3 separate regions of the Homo sapiens genome follow, and regions 1 and 2 are each linked to region 3. The links are contacts of gene promoters, found by promoter capture Hi-C in blood cells and fetal thymus (Javierre and others, 2016). All regions are on one chromosome and are shown on one strand. Each heading gives the region's core, a stretch centred on a gene start or on the middle of the fragment in contact. The rest is flanking DNA. Distances are from core to core; before and after follow the strand shown.

The links. The method cuts DNA at HindIII sites, captures the fragments that hold promoters and counts their contacts. A CHiCAGO score of 5 or more calls a contact.
Region 1: the fragment with the promoter of ALG14 here is called in contact with the fragment with the promoter of RABGGTB in region 3 in 1 of 17 cell types (total CD4 T cells); the score reaches 8.6 in total CD4 T cells.
Region 2: a fragment that was not itself captured here is called in contact with the fragment with the promoter of RABGGTB in region 3 in 1 of 17 cell types (total CD4 T cells); the score reaches 6.5 in total CD4 T cells.

The regions. Positions count from the first base shown.
Region 1 is chr1:95,071,140-95,075,691 of GRCh38, forward strand. ALG14 (ALG14 UDP-N-acetylglucosaminyltransferase subunit) reads right to left here and starts at 1,812. Exons shown (of 4, transcript NM_144988.4): 1 at 1,624-1,812. The coding sequence starts at 1,759. RefSeq lists enhancers at 1,254-1,333, 1,574-1,933. The HindIII fragment of the contact is 2,572 bases long and covers 1-2,150 here.
Region 2 is chr1:86,699,065-86,703,803 of GRCh38, forward strand. CLCA4-AS1 (CLCA4 antisense RNA 1) reads right to left here. Exons shown (of 5, transcript NR_135837.1): 1 at 4,543-4,739. Among named protein-coding and RNA genes, the nearest start is that of CLCA4-AS1, 3.1 kb to the right of the region's middle. RefSeq lists an enhancer at 4,716-4,739. The HindIII fragment of the contact is 2,416 bases long and covers 2,282-4,697 here.
Region 3 is chr1:75,783,428-75,787,729 of GRCh38, forward strand. It overlaps RABGGTB (Rab geranylgeranyltransferase subunit beta), which reads left to right and starts at 2,829. Exons shown (of 9, transcript NM_004582.4): 1 at 2,829-2,847; 2 at 4,070-4,177. The coding sequence starts at 2,845. It overlaps SNORD45C (small nucleolar RNA, C/D box 45C), which reads left to right and starts at 3,645; the gene lies at 3,645-3,722. RefSeq lists enhancers at 1,411-1,630, 2,571-2,800 and a silencer at 2,861-2,920. The HindIII fragment of the contact is 7,492 bases long and covers 1-3,559 here.

The DNA of each region.
Region 1 (4,552 bases), core at 562-3,061, about 19 Mb after region 3:
CAAGGTAGTAAGTGGCAGAAATGTGATTCATGTGTGGTGTTATGACAACCTAGAGGCCTGTGGTCTTAACCCCTACATGATATCAACAGTGGAGTAGCAGCAATTGCTTTATAAAGCAGGATTTTAGGCCAGGGGTGGCTCACGTCTGCAACCCCAGCACTTTGGGATGCTGAGGCAGGAGGATCACTTGAGGTCGGAAGTTCAAGACCAGCCTTGGTCAACATGGTGAAACACTGTCTGTACTAAAAATACAAAAATTAGCTGAGTGTGGTGGTGCGCCTGTAATCCCAGCTACTCGGGAGGCTGAGGCAGGAGAATGGCTTGAATTTGGGAGGTGGAGTTGCAGTGAGCTGAGACTGCGCCACTGCCCTCCAGCCTGGGCAACAGCGTGAGACTCTGTATAAAAAAGAAAAAAAGCAAGATTTTAAATACTCTTTACAATCTGGACTCAGTTTACCTCCCTACATTGAACTCTACACGATAGTGTTCTCTCAACTCTGGTCATTCCAAGTGTTATCACCTTCTTTTCACATCCTCCCAGCCCTCGAAACCCTGGCTGTCCCTCATCTGACTAATTCTGGGTCATCTTTCAAGTTTCAGTTTAGCATCATTTCTTCCAGGAAGCTGTCTGTTTTTTAAGACCTGATAAAGTAGTGCCCTTCCTGAAGACTGCCATAGCAATTTGTACTTCTTACACAATTATTACAAGATTATAGCATTTATCTCATTGTGGCAAATACTCATTTTGATTTATTTTCTGTTAGTTTTTTTGTATTCTCTATTTCATTTACTGCTGTATCTTTGCATCTCTCACAGGACTTAGCACGGAGTCAGCACTCCGTGGCAAGTAATGTTAGTCAGTTTTGTTATTTCCAGAGGTTAGTTTAGTGTTTGGTCTTTCTAACAGCTCAAAACAGATTAAGTGAATAAAGTAATGCGTTATACTTGAACATAAACTTAGTACATTTACTCATACTATACATGTTCTATCTGGATGCAATCTCCTGCCATACCCAAATGTTTACATTGTGTCTGTGTGTGTCTGTCTGTCCCTGTCAAATATGTGTATTTAAAATTGTAAGCACCTACAGAGTTGGTGGATTTAGATTGTATTACCTGACAGGTCAGTGTGTTGCTCACACTCTGCCACCGCGTGTGTATTGTTCTACAGCCCGTAGATCATTGTTTTTATCCTCTTGGACTTTGTATATTTATAAATGTGACAATTCATTTTGCCTCATTTGTCATGTAGCATTCGTGTTTCCTAAACTAAATACGCAATACCTAGATTAATAATGCACAACAGCCATACGGGGAAACTGCATGTTTGCATCAAAAGGCTTCTACGTTCTCTGTTCACTAATTGTTTGAAAAATATACGCTACAGAGAGTCTTAATTATAGACAAGTGTAAATTACTTGTCATAAAAAAAACCTCTGGGCCGCGTCAGCAAACCAGCCCCTACCCTGGCTGGACTGCCCGGTTCCGGCAAGGCAGAGAAACTACAAATCTCTGCATGCAACACTCCAAGAAGTGCTAAGGGTACCAGGGAAGAGCGTCGCGGTGCACTCTGGGGTTTGTAGTGACCAACCCAAGTCCGACAGTCGCCTCCTCGATACTTACCGGACCCAGCCACTACCAAGATACTGAGAGACTCCCGGGGCGTAACGTCCATGGAACGAAGCACTACCCATATTCGCAGGATTAGGAAAACCGCCACAGCTCCTGCGGCCGCAGCTAGAACGAGAACGCACACCATGCAGAGAAACGGCGCATGCGTCCAACTTCCGGGGACCAGCCGCTGTCAAAGTTCACAACTACGGGTGCCGAAGCGACTCAAACGCGGAGGACGCACGTCTTGGTGGGCTGGTCTTTCCTGAGCTGGGAGGAGTGGAGGCGACGGAGAAGCTGAGGTCCCAGTCACAATCCATTTTACCTCATTTATCATGTAGTATTCGTGTTTCCTAAACTAAATACGCAATACCTAGATTAATAATGCACAACAGCCATACAGGGAAACTGCATATTAGCGTTAAAAGGTTTCTACGTTCTGTACGTTCACGTTTGTCAGCGGAACCCCTGCTTCTGCGCGGATTGTGCGCAGCTGCAGCCAAGCGTAAGCTGAAAATTGTAAAGTTAAGCGCTGGGGAAGCTTGATTTACGCCCACGACGAGGTCAGGCAGTCTCTGCGCCCTAAAGGTCCCGAAACTCCCCAGTTAGGAGGTGTTCTGGCTCTGTCAACTTCGTGAATGCCACCTGAAGCTAAGGGAATACATCCTTTCTTTCTTTCTTTTTTTTTTTTTAATGCCAAGAGAAATGTTTCTGTTGCACACAGACATTACTGAAAGTGTTCGCCAGTAAGGACCCTAGGCTTAAACATCGAATTTAGGGCCCTCATCCAAACCCCCTGTCTCCCAACATGTATGTTTTTAACTTTTCTCGAGGTTTTCACAGCTCTCAGTGTGACCAGAGTAGTTGAGGGTGACCACCTAAAGGTAAGCCACACTCCTAAGAGGATTGCAAAGCTCAGTGGCTCTAGGTAGCAGGATAGACAAGGCACAGTCCTACAATTAATATTCAGTTAATTTTATCACAAAGCATTTCCAGTGTGTTTCTCATGTCCTCAGCCAAAATGATGATCTGCCAACACCCCCTTCAATCTCAATTTTGCTTATGTCTAATTAATTAATTGTTAATAAATTAATTATGTCTAATTAATCCACATTACGACAACATAAAATACTAAGATCAGGAGCCCCTTCACCCCAAATATAATTTGCCTTCGGTCCACCATAGACCTACCTGTAGGTTATATTGAACAGGTATACAGATGAGTAAAAAGGTTCAGAAAGGTGCAACTGCTTGCCCAAGTGGAATAGCGTCAGATCTAGAATCAGAAACCAGAAATCTGAGTCCTGCTGGACAGGAGTACTGCATCCTGTATTCCTTTGCTAAATTCAAACTTGCCTGATCACCACACTTACCTGGAGCCTAGAATGTGTTATTAAAGGTGCAGACTCCCAGGGTCCATTAGGAAACACTGAATCAGAATTTCCGGGGATCGGGCACCTGGGATTAGCTTATGTAACCAGCGTGTCCATTCCTATCAGCAAGCAAGTTTGGGAGACTTTGTGAGTAGAGTCCGTGGACCTTACAACACTTTCCAAATTGTCTTCCATCAAATCTTCTTTCTTTTCTTTTCTTTTCTTTTTTTTTTTTTTTGAGACAGAGTCTCACTCTGTCGCTTGGCTGGAGTGCAGTGGCACAATCTTGGCTCACTGCAACCCCCACCTCCCAGGTTCAAGCGATTCTCCTGCCTCAGCCTCCCAAGTAGCTGGGACTACAGGCATGCACCACCATGCCTGGCTATTTTTTTTTTTTTTTTTTTTAGTAGAGACAGAGTTTCACCATGTTGGCCAGGCTGGTCTCGAACTCCTAACCTCAGGTGATCTGCCCGCCTCTACCTCCCAAAGTGCTGGGATTACAGGCATGAGCCACTGCGCCCGGCTCCATCAAATCTTCTTAACTATACATTCTCGCAGTAAGACCTTAAAGTGGATATTAGTTCCCTTTTTACAGACAAAGAAGTAGATTCCATAAAAGTTAAATAATTTGCCTAAGTCTACTTAGCTAGTAAGGGTGGAGAAAGTTCATAGTTGTGGACTTAGAAGTCAGTGTCTCTCAAATTTTAATGGAATCAGAATTCTCTGGGCTTACAAATGCGTAGTTGGAAGTCCAGAGGTAGGGTCTTTGGTGTAGTAAGAAAAACAGCTCAAGGATAATACAAGGAGTATCATTTACTTGTATATGCCCACTCTGCCATTCCTAATAATGTCTTCAACCTGAAACAGTCTTACCTGATACTTAAGACACTAGTGGTCCCAGAATGGGATGTGTGGATGGTTACATCCAACAGGGCAATCTCCATAGCCAAAAAAGAGGTTATCTTGTCGGGTCTTTTTTGCCCCTCCCCCCCAGTCTTGCTCTGTGGCACGGTCTCGGCTCACTGCAACCTCCACCTCTGGGATTCAAGCAATTCGCCTGGCTTAGCCTCCCAAGTAACTGGGACTACAGGTATGCGCCACCACACCCAGCTAATTTTTGTATTTTTAGTAGAGACGGGGTTTCACCATGTTGGTCAGGTTGGTCTTGAACCTGACCTCATGATCCGCCCACCTCAGCCTCCCAAAGTGCTGGGATTATACGGGTGAGCCATGACGCCCGGCCTGCTTTATTTTTTATTTTTTTAAAGGCAAGGAAACTTATTCTAGAACCCCTCACAGCAGACTTTCTTTCACTCCTTTTGGCCATACTTATATCACTTTCCCAGGCATAAAAGGAAAGCGACTTCAAAGCTGGTGGAGGTGGGAGGAGGATGATCTACAACTCACCTGTAATACATGGCTGTTGGATGGAGGGTGGGTACTGAACAAAATAGGCATTCTCTCAGTGAGGAGGAAGCTGCAGGGAGGGTTGTTGGGTAGGCAAACAATAGCATCTAGATTGCTGTGATGATGATGTGTCTGAAACAGCTTTGTAAACTGACACATGC
Region 2 (4,739 bases), core at 2,240-4,739, about 11 Mb after region 3:
ACATAACATAACATAACATAACATAACATAACATAACATAACACTGTCATTGTACAACATGAAGATGTATGGTAAAAATCATTCTAATAATTTAAATTATAATCTTTTCTTTGCTTAGAATGACATTAAACAGCAAATAAAAAAATGACAAGTCAAAAGAGATCACAAAATAAAGGAAAAAGTTTTATTTTAATACCTTTAAACAGCACTTTCCTTTTGCTCTTGAACAAAGGGCTCCATATTTTCGTTTTGCATTGGTCCCTGCGAATTATGTAAGTGGCCCTGTTTATCAGTCTAAAAACTGAAAGGAAGTTTCAGTGAGCATGGGAGACTTTCAATTCTTGCCTTACAGCAGCATGGCAGACATTGATAGTTGCTTACCCTATAACTATTCTCTTTCTGCCTTGCTAACAGAAACCCCATTTTTGTTCAGGATGACAGTAAGTGCTGTTTAAGAAATAAAGAAAGATTTAAAAATAAAATACTAATTTCTATTATGATTGTATACTTTCAACTGAATTTATATGTATCTATATATAGATATATATAGATATATAGATACATATATATGTATTTTTGATATAGATTTTTTTAAAGATATAAAAAATTGAAATACTTATTTTTCAACAGGGCACATTTCATTTATCAGTCTCTAATGCATTTACGGAGAACTAAACGACCCAGTTCTAGCTAATGAGATGTAAACCAAAGTTTACTACGTGGGGTTTATGAAAAAGCTGTTTTCTTGATTTAAGGAGTAAGAAGTAGACTCAGTTGGCATGTACTTTTGCCTTTACTTTTCATCCTTTTTCTGCCTTAAAAACATATTTAATGCCTAGAATTACAGGAGCCATCTTGAGACATTAGGATGAAAGCTACATGATAAGAATAGAAAAACAAAAACACAGAAGACTGCCTACCTCTGAACTTCTTAGAGGGTGAGAAAATAAATCAGTATTTGGGTAAGTCACTACAGCTAGGTTTCTGTTACTTGAGCTGAACATAAGCAGTCCTTAATCAATACAGACTAGATAACATGAAAACTCTTCTACTACAAATACTTAGAAATGCTGGGTAAAATGCAGCAAAATAAATTAATTAATTAATAATAATGCATACTTGAGCTTACAAAAAAAAAGACAGGGAAATATTCAGGTGGCAAAAATAAAAAAAGAAACTGGACACCAGGGTCTTGAATACAGAATATGACCCTGTCTGGAGAGGAGAAAGGATTGAATGAGGATGGTGCTTGAATGTTTAAATCCATGAGGTGATAAATGGATTTTAAAAATGTGATATATGTATACAATGGAAAACTATTCAGCCTCTAAAAAGAAGGAAATCCTGTCATTTGTGACAACATAGATGAACCTTAAAGACATTATGTTAAGTGAAATAAGCCAGGCCCAGAAAGATGAATATTGCATGATCTCACTTAAATATGGAATCTAAAAAAGTTGAACTCAATAGAAGCAAAGAGTGGAATGGTGGTTAGCAAGGGCTGGGAGAGAGTGAGGGAGCTGGATGACGCTGGTCAAAGGATATACAATTTCAGTTACATAGGAGGAATAAGTTCAAGAGATCTATTGTACAACATAGTGACTATAGTTAACAACATGTTGTATTCTTCAAAATCACTAAGAACAGACTTTAAGTGTTCTCACCATAAAAATAAGTATGTGACGTAATACATATGTTAAGTCACTCAATTTAGCCATTCCAAGATGTATACATATTACAAATCAGGTTGTATACAATACAGTATATACAATTATCATTTGTCAATTTTCATTAATTTTTTTTTTAAGATGGAGTTTCGCTCTTGTTGCCCAAGCTGGAATGCAATGGCGTGATCTCAGCTCACTGCAACCTCCTCGGTTTAAGTGATTCTCCTGCCTCAGCCTCCCGAGTACCTGGGATTACAAGCACCCACCACCACACCCGGCTAATTTTTGTATTTTTAGTAGAGACAGGGTTTCACCATGTTGGCCAGGCTGGTCTTGAACTCCTGACCTCAAGTTATCCACCCACCTCAGCCTCCCAAAGTGCTGGGATTATAGGCATGAGCCACCGCGCCTGGCCTTTATAATTTTTAAAAATACACGGTAACTTGTGATAAGACCTTGGGCCCTTGGTGCAAACAGAAATCAGTTAACTGTGAGCACACCCTGTCCCCCAACTTCATGACCTCACACACACACATAAGTTAAAAACCCATGAAATTCTGTACCCTCAATGAAAGGGTAGACTAGATAGAAGCTTTTCTTCTGGCATAGTAAGAAGCTTTTCTGTCAAGGCACAAGCTCTGAAAGAGAAAAAAACAAGGAAGATCTCTCTCCCTTGAGAATTTGAATCATAGTTTGTACTCCCACAAATCTGGGTTCAAATTTATAATATCTGAATGATCTTAGAACTTCTAAGCCAAGAAAGAAATTCATGTAAAAATTGCTCACTAGCCAGTGATAACCTTAGGGGTCTCTGACAGAAGAAACATTTTTTTCTGTATCACTAAAAATGAGCCATAAAAAAAAAAGCTAAAAGGAATCAATGTACAAAGCAAAAGGAATCAATCCACAAACAAAAAGGTCATCAAATACACAAATAGAAGTATTAGACCCCTAAATGCAAAAGGATTTATCTATATGATATCATTTATGCAGTTTAAAAATATAACATAGTAGTACCATTCATAGATACATATAAATTCAGTGAAAGTACAAAAACATAACAGATATTAATCATACCAATTTAAAAATAGTGGCTAACTCTGGGGAAGGAATAGTGTCAAGAAAAGCCTGAATAATTGATCCAGACTGAAGGAGAATTGAGCAACAAGCTAACTGGATGCAGCACATGATCTTTCTTGGCTGGGACGTTTTTGCTGTAAAGACATTGGAATAATTGGCAAAGTTTGAGTGGGGTTTCTAGGCAAAGGGTACACAGAAGTTTTTGTACTATTCTTGCAACAGTTTTCTTAGTTTGTAAATTGTTTCAAGTTAAAAAATTTGTTTTTAAAAAGAGGATGAAAATGAAAAATAGGAAACAGTTTCAGAGAAGAAATTGCCAGGATAGACCAATTGGTGGTGGGAAATAAGAGGAAATAATCAAAGGGGACTCAGATTTCTGGCTTAGGTGATTTGGTGTGTATGATTCAATTTATCAATGTAGGAAACCCAAGAAAAGAAGAATTTTCAGGAAAAGCAAACTATAACAGACTTGCCACTGGAAATATTGAATCTATGGATAAATAGTTGGAAATTTAGGCTGGGGGTGATGGTGTCACAAAAGAGCTTAGCACTGTAAACATCTTGATTTGATTACTTTTTTCACTTACTAAATCATTTGGGAATTCACTATGTTGCCTGTGTAAACCATAAAATATATAAAAATAAATAGGAAACGGACACTGCCCTTAAGGGACTGATATCTGGTAAGAGAAGTAGAATCAGTCTGTAGGCAAAGGGTAGAGACTGATGGAGCAAGTTCTAGAGGGTGACAAATTAGTTCTCAACCTTGGTCACACATTAAGAACACCTAGAGGAACTCCTAAAACATCCCAATGCCCAGTCCACACTCTGGGACTGGATCCAGGCATCAGTGGTTGCTTAAACTCTCCAGGTGATGCTGATGTGCAGCCAAGATTAAGGGAGCAGTGGCTCTACTCAGAACACCTGAGACACCTATTCCTTTGAAACATTTGGCAATGATGCAGGAAAGAGTGTGGAGAGAACAGGAGGTGGAAATAAGGAAATTTGGTTGAAGAGGCTTCTGCCAAACAGAGTGATGATTTATATTTTCTCTGTAAAGAAAGCGAATCAGCTGGGTGCGGTGGCTCACACCTGTCATCCCAGCACTTTGGGAGGCTGTGGCAGGCGGATCACTTGAGGCCAGGAGTTCGAGACCAGCCTGGCCCACATGGTGAAACTCTGTCTCTACTAAAGATATAAAAAATTAGCCGGGCGTGGTGATGCATGCTTGTAATCCCAGCTACTTGGAAGGCTGAGGCAGGAGAATCCTTGAACCCAGGAGGCAGAGGTTGCAGTGAGCTGAGATCACACCATTGCACTCCAGCCTGGGTGACACAGCAAAACTCTGTCTCAAAAAAAAAAGTGTCAAAGGCTAAGAATAAGGATATATGAAAATAAGGTAAGTCTTTTATGGAGAATGGGGAAACAGGATTACAGCTACAGAGGGTGCAAAAGAAAGAAGTAACATTGTTGTTTTCCCAAGACTGGGAAGATTGAAACACTTGAGGATGAGGATTCAGGGACACCACTGTGTCCACCATTAAAGAATTTCCCCTTTAATGGTGGACACGGTGGTGTGATCCTTTTGTAGAGACGAGCATAGGTTATGGCAAATATACCTACTTTAAAAACAGTGCTCTGGGAAGAGAGTAAGTGCTTTTCCACATAAAGATCTAAAATAGACAATAAATGAGAAATAGGGTTTTTTATTATATATTCATTTTTCCATATTTCTGGAAAATGAAACAGACATGGAGTATTTCAAAGCTGGGAGAGATCATTATATTGGAGTTACCTTAGAAAGAGGGGGCTGTTTCTGCCACCACAACAAAGAATGAAACAACACAAATATTTACGTTTTCTTCTTGTCCTCATAATGCTTTTACTGCACTCGTCTTTCAACCTTTAACATCTACTGCATCTGTGACTGTTGTTTCAGTAAAACACGGAAGCTTGAATGTAAGCTCATTTCATTGCCTGCTGCACAACCAC
Region 3 (4,302 bases), core at 1,579-4,078:
TTTGTAGGGACATGGATGAAGCTGGAAACCATCATTCTGAGCAAACTATCGCAAGGACAAAAAACCAAACACCCCATGTTCTCACTCATAGGTGGGAATTGAACAATGAGAACACAGGGACACACGAAGGGGAACATCACACACCGGGGACGGTTGTGGGGTCGGGGGAAGGGGGATGGATAGCATTAGGTGATATACCTAATGCTAAATGACGAGTTAATGGGTGCAGCACACCAACATGGCACATGTATACATATGTAACAAACCTGCACGTTGTGCACATGTACCGTAAAACTTAAATAATAATAAAAAAAATCAAAATAAAATAGAAGTTGAAGAAAAGGAAGAAAAACAAAGTCAGGAAACAACAGAAGCTGGATAAGATGTGGAGAAATAGGAACACTTTTACATTGTTGGTGGGAGTGTAAAGTAGTTCAACCACTGTGGAAGACAGTGTTGTGATTCCTCAAGGATCTAGAACTAGAAATAGCATTTGACCCAGTGATCCCATTACGGGGTATATACCCAAAGATTATAAACACACATGCACACGTATGTTTATTGGGCACTATTCACAATAGCAAAGACTTGGATCCAACTCAAATGTCATCAACGATAGAGTGGATTAAGAAAATGTGGCACATATACACCATGGAATACTATGCAACCATAAAAAAGGATGAGTTCATGTCCTTTGTGGGGTCATGGATGAAGCTGGAAACCATTATTCTGAGCAAAGTATCACAAGGATAGAAAACCAAACACCGCATATTCTCACTCATAGGTGGGAATTGAAGAATGAGAATACCTGGACACAGGGCAGGGAACATCACACACAGGGGCCTGTCATGGTGTTGGGGGAGGGGGGAAGGATAGCATTAGGAGAAATACCTAATTTAAATGATGAGTTAATGGGTGCAGCAATCCAACCTGGCACATGTATATCCATGTAACAAACCTACACGTTGTACACATGTACCCTAGAACTTACAGTATAATTTTTTTAAAAAAAGTAACTTCCAATATTTTTACTATTAGCACTCTCCGAAGAAGTGTTTGTGGTGGCGGTGGTGGTGGTGGGGAGGGTGGCCTGTGTGTGTGGCGAGGAGAGGGGGCGGGTACAGGGCTGGACCTTGAGATAGATAAGGCAAACAGGAAGGAAATGTGAACATTTCATTAATATTCATTTAAAAAATATTCATTGAACACTTACTACGTGTAAGCAGGCACTCTACTAATTAACAGCCATTTCAGATTTTCAGAGTGCAAAGGGCCTCAAGAACAAATGATTTATTTTTTTGAGACATGGTCTCGTTCTGTCTCACACCCTGCAGTGCAGTGGCATTATCACCGCTCACTGTAGCCTCCACCCCCTGCCCCACAGCTCAAGTAATTCTCTCACCTCAGCTTCCCCAGTAGCTGAAACCACAGGCTTGGGCAACCACGTCTGGCTCATATTTTTATTATTTGTAGAGACGGGGGTCTTGCAACATTGCCCAGGCTGGTCTGGATCTCCTGGAACCGCCTTTGCAAAATTATAACTGAGGAAATTATGGCAGTGAAAGAAATCAGACCTAACGGATTCCATCTTGCTTCTAACTTTTGTTTTTGAGACTAGTCTCGCTCTGTCGCCCAGGGTGGAGTGCAGTGGCGTGATCTCTGCTCACTGCAAGCTCCGCCTCCCGGGTTTAAGCCATTCTCCTGCCTCAACCTCAGGAGTAGATGGGACTACAGGCGCCCACCCCCACGCCCGGCTAATTTTTTGTATTTGTAGTAGAGACGGGGTTTTAGCCAGGATGGTCTCGATCCCCTGACCTCGTGATCCGCCCGCCTTGGCCTCCCAAAGTGCTGGGATTACAGGCGTGAGCCACCGGCCGCTTCTAACTTTTAAGCTGTCCTTCTTCATTCCTGAGCCTAGGCTGAACCAATTTAGGGAGGAATTCAGTTTATGGTTTGACTCTGAAACAAAATTGATAATATCCCTTTCCCAAAAAGACCGCTTTTTTGCCTGGGGACCAGTCTGCCTTTGCAGAACCAACAGATTAGCTACAAGATTAGAAATTACAGTTTAGAGGTCATGCAGCCTCTGGCTCCAAGTTTCTGAACCTCCCCAAATTGCTCCTGGGGATAACATCACTATTGTAAAACCTAAGATAAGTTCTTGAGATATTTTGCAGACCCTGCTCTCCATGGATCAGTTGAAACCACCCAGATTGGTAATTTGGCTCAACCAGTTCTGCCATCCTACCCAGGAACAGAAAACAGCAAGAAAAACTCACGTCTACCCACTATGAGTCCATCTCCAACCTGACCCATCAGCACTCCCTACTTCCCAAGCCCCTAATCGCCGAATTATCTTTAAAAACTCTGAATACTGCTTGGGGAGACTCCATTGCAAGTCCCCTGTCTTGATAAATGGGCTATCGGTCAGCAGCAGGCAAAGTGAACCACAATATTGGGTGGTTACACTCCTAGGATCAAGCAATCCTGCTGTCCGGCTTCCCAAAGTGCTGGGATTACAGGCGTAAGCCACCGCGTCCAGCTAGAACAAATGATTTCTTAAAAGCAACTCAGATATTTAAATATTATTTAAAACTGTTTCTAGACAAATCGGAGTGACTATGGGACAAGCATATGGTCGCAGGACTTTGGACGCAGGCAGTGAGGACACCTATGAGCGATCAGTGGGGTCCTACGGCAGCCGTGGAACTGCTCTGCCTTGCAGGCGAAAGTGTGGTCAGCTATATCGGAGCGCGATGGGGGCCTGAGAGGCGCATCTGCGCAGGCGCCCGGCTCCTAAGTCTACCCAGGAACTGACCCTGCTCTCTCCTTTCCCTGTTAGACATGGTAAGTGTGAGTTTAGCGCTGCTGTCCGGATGGGTTGGTAGCAGACAGGGTGGAGTAGGGTTAAGCACACTGGTCACCTTAGGATTGGTTTCCTGGTGCTGGAGAATGGTTAGGACACAGGCCTTGGAAGGTTTTTTGAGTGTGAAATATTACTCAGCGTTTTCTGCAGACCTCGCGGGCAATGCCGCTTCTAATTTTATCCAGGCCTTCTTCTGTAGGGAGGGCCTGTTAAGAGTTGAGCAGCCCGATTTCTGAACCCCTCTAAAAAGCTGTGGCTGATTGGTGGCTTTTTTTTTTCTTGGAGAGGGGGTGTCAAAGATTTCTTTAAAATCGTTAGTGATGTGGTCTCGCTTTAAGATTTTTAATGGGATCAGAAGAAAATTCGGTACTTAATCACTTCCGGTAATCTTCATGACCTGTTATAGTGACTGCAGTGTACTCTCAATGAGGAAGATATAGATACGAAAAGAACTAGAGCCGCATCACATGGGGACTTCTGCAAATACAGAGACTCGGATTAAAGGTGGAGAAGATGGAGCTAAAGGAACTGCTTATTTAATACATTTGAACAACTTTTGGGGTACTTAGAAGGTGCTTTGAAACCTGCATTTGATTAAGCAAGAATTCGCTTGCAAGTTAAGGGTTAGATTTTTTTATTTTTTAAAAATATGCTTTCTGCCACATGTAAACCGTAAGTTGTCCTGAAATGATAAGCTTTGATATTCTATGGTGTTTATTTTTTACTTATCTTTTTGAATGAAAAGTGAACAACAAGAAATGCTGGTGGTAATTTTTTGGGTCAATGATGAGTTGGCATGTATTCTGAATCTAAAGTTGATTATTACTACTTTAGCTCTAGAATTACTCTGAGACCTGAAAATTACCTGAATCGTGACTAAGACGAAGCCTGAATGATTTAAGTTCTTTTTTGTTGGATACAATTTGTTGTTGTTGTTGTTGTTTTGGTTTTGTTTTTGAGTCGGTCTCCGGTCGCCCAGGATGGAGTGCAGTGACACAACCTCAGTTCACTGCAGCCTTAATTTCCCTGGCTCAAGCGATCTTCTACCTCAGCCTCCCTAGTTAGTTACAATTTTTAAATGGAACGTTTTCCTATTACAAGATGAAATCAAGTGAAAATTGAGATGTATGTTGAATCTATGCTGTGGGGCAGAAGAACGTTGTAGAGGTAAACATTGATGAGATTACCACTTTATTTTGAAAGGGCACTCCACAGAAGGATGTTATTATCAAGTCAGATGCACCGGACACTTTGTTATTGGAGAAACATGCAGATTATATCGCATCCTATGGCTCAAAGAAAGATGATTATGTATGTATAATTTTTTTATGTTGGAAAGTTTATTTTAAAGAAGTGTGACAGTCATAAGCAGTGAGACAGTATTTATGTCTTAAAATGGCATCCAACTCCATGCAGAGAACTGAGGATGTGCTGTG